2 separate regions of the Homo sapiens genome follow, and region 2 is linked to region 1. The links are contacts of gene promoters, found by promoter capture Hi-C in blood cells and fetal thymus (Javierre and others, 2016). All regions are on one chromosome and are shown on one strand. Each heading gives the region's core, a stretch centred on a gene start or on the middle of the fragment in contact. The rest is flanking DNA. Distances are from core to core; before and after follow the strand shown. Region 1 holds the start of ZAR1L (zygote arrest 1 like). Region 2 overlaps NBEA (neurobeachin).

The links. The method cuts DNA at HindIII sites, captures the fragments that hold promoters and counts their contacts. A CHiCAGO score of 5 or more calls a contact.
Region 2: a contact is called between a fragment that was not itself captured here and the fragment with the promoter of ZAR1L in region 1, in 1 of 17 cell types (total B cells). The highest score is 5.8, in total B cells.

What each region holds. Positions count from the first base shown.
Region 1 is chr13:32,313,085-32,316,612 of GRCh38, forward strand. ZAR1L (zygote arrest 1 like) reads right to left here and starts at 2,279. Exons shown (of 6, transcript NM_001136571.2): 1 at 2,231-2,279; 2 at 1,246-1,466. It overlaps BRCA2 (BRCA2 DNA repair associated), which reads left to right and starts at 2,424. Exons shown (of 27, transcript NM_000059.4): 1 at 2,424-2,583; 2 at 3,338-3,443. The coding sequence starts at 3,377. RefSeq lists a silencer at 1,475-1,695, a cis regulatory region at 1,814-1,880, a promoter at 2,209-2,705 and an enhancer at 2,814-3,083. The HindIII fragment of the contact is 7,545 bases long and covers 2,003-3,528 here.
Region 2 is chr13:34,943,022-34,946,699 of GRCh38, forward strand. NBEA (neurobeachin) reads left to right here. Exons shown (of 59, transcript NM_001385012.1): 1 at 1-93. Among named protein-coding and RNA genes, the nearest start is that of NBEA, 2.6 kb to the left of the region's middle. RefSeq lists a silencer at 800-889. The HindIII fragment of the contact is 994 bases long and covers 1,078-2,071 here.

The sequences.
Region 1 (3,528 bases), core at 1,029-3,528:
AGAGACTGGTCAGAGCCTAAAATGTTACAGTTAGGTAGAATGAATGAGTCTAGAGATCTAATTTACAGCATAACGACTACAGTTAACAATACTGTATTTTATACTGAAAAGTTTCAAAGAGAAATTTCAGGTGCTCTCACCGCACACAAAAGAAAGGTAATTATGTGAACAGATGGATATGTTAATTGCTTGACTATAGTAATCATCTCACTGTGTACATATACATGTTGTGCACATTAAATATATACAACTTTTAGGAAATAATGGTTTTTTGGGTTTTTGTTTGTTTGCTTGTTTGAAATGGAGTTTCCTTGCTCTGTCTCCCAGGCAGGAGTGCAGTGGCATGATTTCGGCTCACTGCAACTTCCGCCTCTGGGGTTCAAGTGATTCTCCCACCTCAGCCTCCCAAGTAGCTGGGATTACAGGCACATGCCACCACACCCAGTTAATTTTTGTATTTTTAGTAGAGACAGGGTTTTGCCATGTTGGCCAGGCTGGTCTCGAACTCCTGACCTCAGGTGATCTGCCCACCTTGGCCTCCCAAAGTGCTGTGATTACAGGCGTGAGCCACCATGCCCAGCTGGAAATAATGTTTTTAAGAAAAATTAAAGCATATTGTAAATTGAATACAAATAGTAAATTGAGCAGCTGCACTAGAAGAGAATAGGTGAGAAAGTCTATTATGGTGGAGCTAATAAGTTGCAAGTCCCTGGTACAAAGAGAACAAGAAACATAAAGGTATGGGGGGCTGTATAAAATGACAGAAAATGTTATTTCTGAGACTTGTGTGACATGCCACGGGTTCTCATTAGTCCACTCCTAGTGAGACACCCCTCCCCCACAAAAAGGGGACAAAGCATATTGTTCTGATTTATAGGGTAAATAAATCACAGGTTAGTTAAGTGTATGAAGTCAAATGGACTAGAATTCAAACCTGGGCCTTACTACCAGGCACATTACTTAACTACTTGATTCAGTATCCTCATCTGACAATACTGACCAATTTACAGGATTACTGTAAGATTAAACATGGTATTGCTTGAAAACCCAAAGCAGAATGCCTAACTCATAAAATGTTTGGTAAGTGGCAGCTGTTATTAGTAAGGATCACAGACGTATTTCTTTGCGAATTAGACTTAGAGCAAAAGCTTTAGAATCTATCTGCATTAGTAAGGCCTCCTTCTACAACTAAGGATTACTGATTATCAAACTAAAATGGTCCCTAAGGAACCAAGCGGAGCCCACCCTTTTCCTAATCCAAGGTTGCTTCTGTTTACTGCTCAAGCACCTTCTGGAAGCAGCAAGGCCCCCATGGGAGCAACTCTCACTGAATCCATTTGAAGGTTTTGTAGGTCTTACAACAAACCCTATTCAGCCTTGTATTAGGCATGTTACAGAACCAACGAATTCGGAGATGAAGTCAGGTCTTCCAGTTCAGCCTGCGAGGAAGACAGGTGATCCGAATCCTAAGAATGCAAAAGATGGGCCGGGTGTGGTGGCTCATGCCTGTAATCCCAGCGCTTTGGGAGGCCGAGGCAGGCAGATCACCTGAGGTCGGGAGGTTGAGACCAGACTGACCAACAACGGAGAAACCCCGTCTCTACTTAAAAATGCAAAGTTAGCCGTGCGTGGTGGCCCATGCCTGTATTCCCAGCTACTCGGGAGGCTGAGGCAGGAGAACCACTTGATCCCTGGAGGCGGAAGTTGCGGTGAGCGGAGATTGCGCCATTGCACACCAGCCCGGGCCACAAGAGCGAAACTCCGTCTCAAAAAAAAAAGCAAAAGATACTACCAAGCCCTGCGGAGCAAGGTACCTCACACTTCATGAGCGAGTTAAGATGGGTTTCACAATTTTTCAAGCAAGGAAACGGGCTCGGAGGTCTTGAACACCTGCTACCCAATAGCAGAACAGCTACTGGAACTAAAATCCTCTGATTTCAAATAACAGCCCCGCCCACTACCACTAAGTGAAGTCATCCACAACCACACACCGACCACTCTAAGCTTTTGTAAGATCGGCTCGCTTTGGGGAACAGGTCTTGAGAGAACATCCCTTTTAAGGTCAGAACAAAGGTATTTCATAGGTCCCAGGTCGTGTCCCGAGGGCGCCCACCCAAACATGAGCTGGAGCAAAAAGAAAGGGATGGGGGACTTGGAGTAGGCATAGGGGCGGCCCCTCCAAGCAGGGTGGCCTGGGACTCTTAAGGGTCAGCGAGAAGAGAACACACACTCCAGCTCCCGCTTTATTCGGTCAGATACTGACGGTTGGGATGCCTGACAAGGAATTTCCTTTCGCCACACTGAGAAATACCCGCAGCGGCCCACCCAGGCCTGACTTCCGGGTGGTGCGTGTGCTGCGTGTCGCGTCACGGCGTCACGTGGCCAGCGCGGGCTTGTGGCGCGAGCTTCTGAAACTAGGCGGCAGAGGCGGAGCCGCTGTGGCACTGCTGCGCCTCTGCTGCGCCTCGGGTGTCTTTTGCGGCGGTGGGTCGCCGCCGGGAGAAGCGTGAGGGGACAGATTTGTGACCGGCGCGGTTTTTGTCAGCTTACTCCGGCCAAAAAAGAACTGCACCTCTGGAGCGGGTTAGTGGTGGTGGTAGTGGGTTGGGACGAGCGCGTCTTCCGCAGTCCCAGTCCAGCGTGGCGGGGGAGCGCCTCACGCCCCGGGTCGCTGCCGCGGCTTCTTGCCCTTTTGTCTCTGCCAACCCCCACCCATGCCTGAGAGAAAGGTCCTTGCCCGAAGGCAGATTTTCGCCAAGCAAATTCGAGCCCCGCCCCTTCCCTGGGTCTCCATTTCCCGCCTCCGGCCCGGCCTTTGGGCTCCGCCTTCAGCTCAAGACTTAACTTCCCTCCCAGCTGTCCCAGATGACGCCATCTGAAATTTCTTGGAAACACGATCACTTTAACGGAATATTGCTGTTTTGGGGAAGTGTTTTACAGCTGCTGGGCACGCTGTATTTGCCTTACTTAAGCCCCTGGTAATTGCTGTATTCCGAAGACATGCTGATGGGAATTACCAGGCGGCGTTGGTCTCTAACTGGAGCCCTCTGTCCCCACTAGCCACGCGTCACTGGTTAGCGTGATTGAAACTAAATCGTATGAAAATCCTCTTCTCTAGTCGCACTAGCCACGTTTCGAGTGCTTAATGTGGCTAGTGGCACCGGTTTGGACAGCACAGCTGTAAAATGTTCCCATCCTCACAGTAAGCTGTTACCGTTCCAGGAGATGGGACTGAATTAGAATTCAAACAAATTTTCCAGCGCTTCTGAGTTTTACCTCAGTCACATAATAAGGAATGCATCCCTGTGTAAGTGCATTTTGGTCTTCTGTTTTGCAGACTTATTTACCAAGCATTGGAGGAATATCGTAGGTAAAAATGCCTATTGGATCCAAAGAGAGGCCAACATTTTTTGAAATTTTTAAGACACGCTGCAACAAAGCAGGTATTGACAAATTTTATATAACTTTATAAATTACACCGAGAAAGTGTTTTCTAAAAAATGCTTGCTAAAAACCCAGTACGTCACA
Region 2 (3,678 bases), core at 325-2,824, 2.6 Mb after region 1:
CGCAACATCCGGATGAAATTCGCAGTGTTGATTGGACTCATACAGGTCGGAGAGGTCAGCAACAGGGACATCGTGGAGACGGTGCTCAACCTGGTAAGGAAAAGGCGTGCTCTCAATCTGCTTCCCCAGTCCCCACATACACCGTCCCCAGCGCCTTTCCCTCCCACCCTTCACCCCCAGGGTCACACGCGCCGCGCGTCCCTGGGAGCGCAGAGCGTTCAGCCGGTATTGCCCAGCGGGTGACCTGCCTGCGCGCTGCTAGAGCCACGCCACCTCCCTCCTCTCCTCTTTCTGGTCCTCTCCTGCCACCTGAGCGCAGTGCCCAACTTAACACCGCTTCTTCTCACTTTTTAGGACCGCGAGTAACCCAGTACCCGCGGTGAAGGTTTTGGGTCGACTTTAGAGTTTAGTTAGGAGGTGAGGAGGCCTCCTGTTCTCTGGGGTTCTTTTTCTCACACTTAATTGTCCTTGGTGTCGCTCTCCGAGGATGACAGCCTTGCCCCTGGAGCCTAAATTCCCCCGTGCTGCTGAAATGTGAGAAGCGCATTAGCTTCCAACTTGAGCAGCTGGGGTGTGATGTTTTCGAAGGAGACAGAAAATGATGCAGTTTTGCATCTGTCTTTAAATATTCCAAGGCCATGATGGAGAGTGTTGTGTCTGTATCCATCCCCCTCCATCTCAGAAGCAGCCGTCCCTTCTTTGTAATATTGCCCTGAATATACTGATCTCTTAGTCATTTTTTGTGCACACAAGGTGTGTGAGGACACCAAATCACACAGGTTGATTTCTGTGGTTACTTTCAGTAGTGTGGCATGTGGGTAAAGACTAAAGGAAAGGTTTTAAACGCAGCCCTAGGTTTTGGTTCCTTTCATGGTAAGAAAGAGTTACTGCAGAAGTGTGTATGACTTAATGTTTTGCGCTATCTACAGAGAGGCTCAGAAGCGTTTAAGATGTCAGGGAAAGAAATGGAAAGAAGGAGAGGAGAATCATACATTGAGGATAATTAACAGTAGTTCATATTTAGTGCTTTGTAAATGGAGGTTTTGTTTTGTTTTGTTTTGTTTTTAAATGCAGCCAAGCTTTTTAAACAGTTTTCTCTGCAATAGATCTAGTCTTTGACATACTGTAAGGTTGGGCTTTGGGAGGCAAGACATAAATCGAGAGCAATCAGTTGAGTATTGTATTTGGTGTGGGGTCACAGGAATATAACAATATGCTTACAGGGGTACTTTGTAACACCCATGCAGTCATTTTTCAGCTAAGCAATTATTTTTACTTACTCTATTGGAAAACTGAGAGAAAGCTGCAGCTACATCAGTGGTGTCCTGAGACATGCATTAGATAATGTCTACGGTTTATGAACCTCGTAAATGCACAGAAAAGTTGAAGCTGTTTTTTTCCTTTTGCTAGTGTGTCAGGTCAAAGGAGATTATCTGTCTTTGTTATATTCATTGCTGTTTAAAACAAAACACCTCTTTTTACTTTTTTGTACCTTTCAAATAAATCATCATGAAAAGTCAGTGTAAGTTTGAGGGAATGTCACTAAGTTGATATAACCAAGTTCTTTTCAGAACACTACTAGAAATACAGTTTTCTTGAGTTTTAATTTTAACTAGCTGCAAATAAGAGGTCAGTACTTGCCATTTCTTTTTAAAAGAAGATAAATCTCAAACTGTTAGTATGTTAGCAGGTAACTGTATTTCTGTAATTTAAAGGAACACATTTTTAGTTGCAGTTTTGATCTAACCAATATCATTTTTAAGTTAGATTATATTAGGCTATTTTAGTAAGTATTCCTATGCTTACTTAATACATTTTAACCTGGTAAGAGGCAGTAGAGCTTTCACAACCTGGAAACTGATTTGAATGTATAACCAGTTTGGACTCTGCAGCAGTAGCAATGTGTGCTGAATCAGTTCTTAACAGATGGGGTTTTTTAGATATACGGTAGACTAAGAAAGGAAGTGAAATGTTTCTCTTGAGATAAAAAAGAAATTTAACTCTTCAGAGCAATGAAAATCTGACATGAAGTTTCAGTATGCAGACGTTATTTTAGAGAACTTTACCATTAAGCTTAGAGTCACTAGAAATAAAGTAATACTGAGATAGTATATCCCCAAATCTACCTAAGATTTTGTAACTGCAATGATATTTGGAATTTAAAGAGTTAGGTTTAAAATTTCTTTGTATGTATTTAAAGAATGCAATAGATTTTTAAATAGAAACTTTTGGAGAAAAGAATAAATGACAAAAGGAGCTGTTTATTACTAAGTTGTTAATTATATTAATTGTGGAGTATAAATTAGTCATTTGAAGTGTAATTTTCTTGAACTGTAGATTTAGGGCTTTATTGTCCAATACACTCATGAAAATGTCATATGAAAATTTAAGTGGATTCTCAAAAATATGTGGAAGTCATGGGCATTTAAAAAACTGATTATCAAACTTAATTCTATTTATTTAGTAAGTAAACCAATAAAATTCATATAGGACACTCAGTGACTCGTTAGAGTTTGGAAACCTTTAATATTAAATCTAAAATGATTTTTTAAAATTTTCAGTTTTAGTTTAACACATTAAATAAAAATGTAAGGTGAAATAGTGAAATACCTATTACTGTGCCCTGAATGACAGAAAAGAAAGGAGAACTAATGAAACTTCAAAAAAAAGAGGAGTTTCTACCTTAAACAATACCTTTGTCTCAGTCGCCTTTGTCAGTATATTTTTCTTTCTTTTTCCTGTTTATTTTTTCTTCCTATGTAAGGATACTCATAAATACTTGGTTTTTAGGTGCTGTTTCTCACATGCCTTGGCCAAAGAATTAAAAGCTGGGCAGAGTGAAGTTTTAAGCATGCACTAAAGTGTAGGACTTCTTCAACAGAGCGGTGGCTGTAATTTTTCTGCTTTGTTTCCCAAAGGTCTAGAGACCTATTTTTACTACTAGGTGGATTGTGGGAGTTTGGTGAGGAATCACCAATGTGATATGATATAAAATTAGTCATTTTTATTAGAGATGTATGTATTTTGTATAATGATGTTATAGTTGACTTAAAACAGTGAAATATGGAATGGATAATGTTAGGAAGGTAGGTAAATTAGTTTGTGAATAAAGTTACAGTCAGAGTGCATTGTCAAGGATTTTGCATTGTAGCTCTACTAATGAAAGAAACTGATCGTTAACAAAGTTTGGCTTCTGGAGGAATTATTTAAAGTGGCAATATAAGAGAATTTAACTACAGAGAAGAGATTTTGTTGATTGTTTTCAGTTGTAAAACTGGCGTACTACCTAATCTATTACTTCTTTTGTAAACACACTTAACATATGTTTATATAAGCTTTATCCATATTTGAAGTAAAAGCTATGTAAGTATCGTGTTATTGTTGCTTATAACATGGAAGTTTCTTTTATAAACATAAATTTCTAGAAAAATATGTTTATAATAGAGGATTAATATTTACTTAGTGAAAGAATTCATAATTTTTTTGGAATGGCTTTCTTATGTGTATAGTATAATTCTATGATTATAATTATGGAATTTAATTATAGACAAATTTTTTATGAATAACTGAATTCATGAAATTTTTTCATGAAATTTTTTCATGGATTTGTAGTTTTTTTTCATGAGTTACAGTGAGTTATATCAGTGTGTCCAGTTGTAGAAAATGATATTTCCTCTG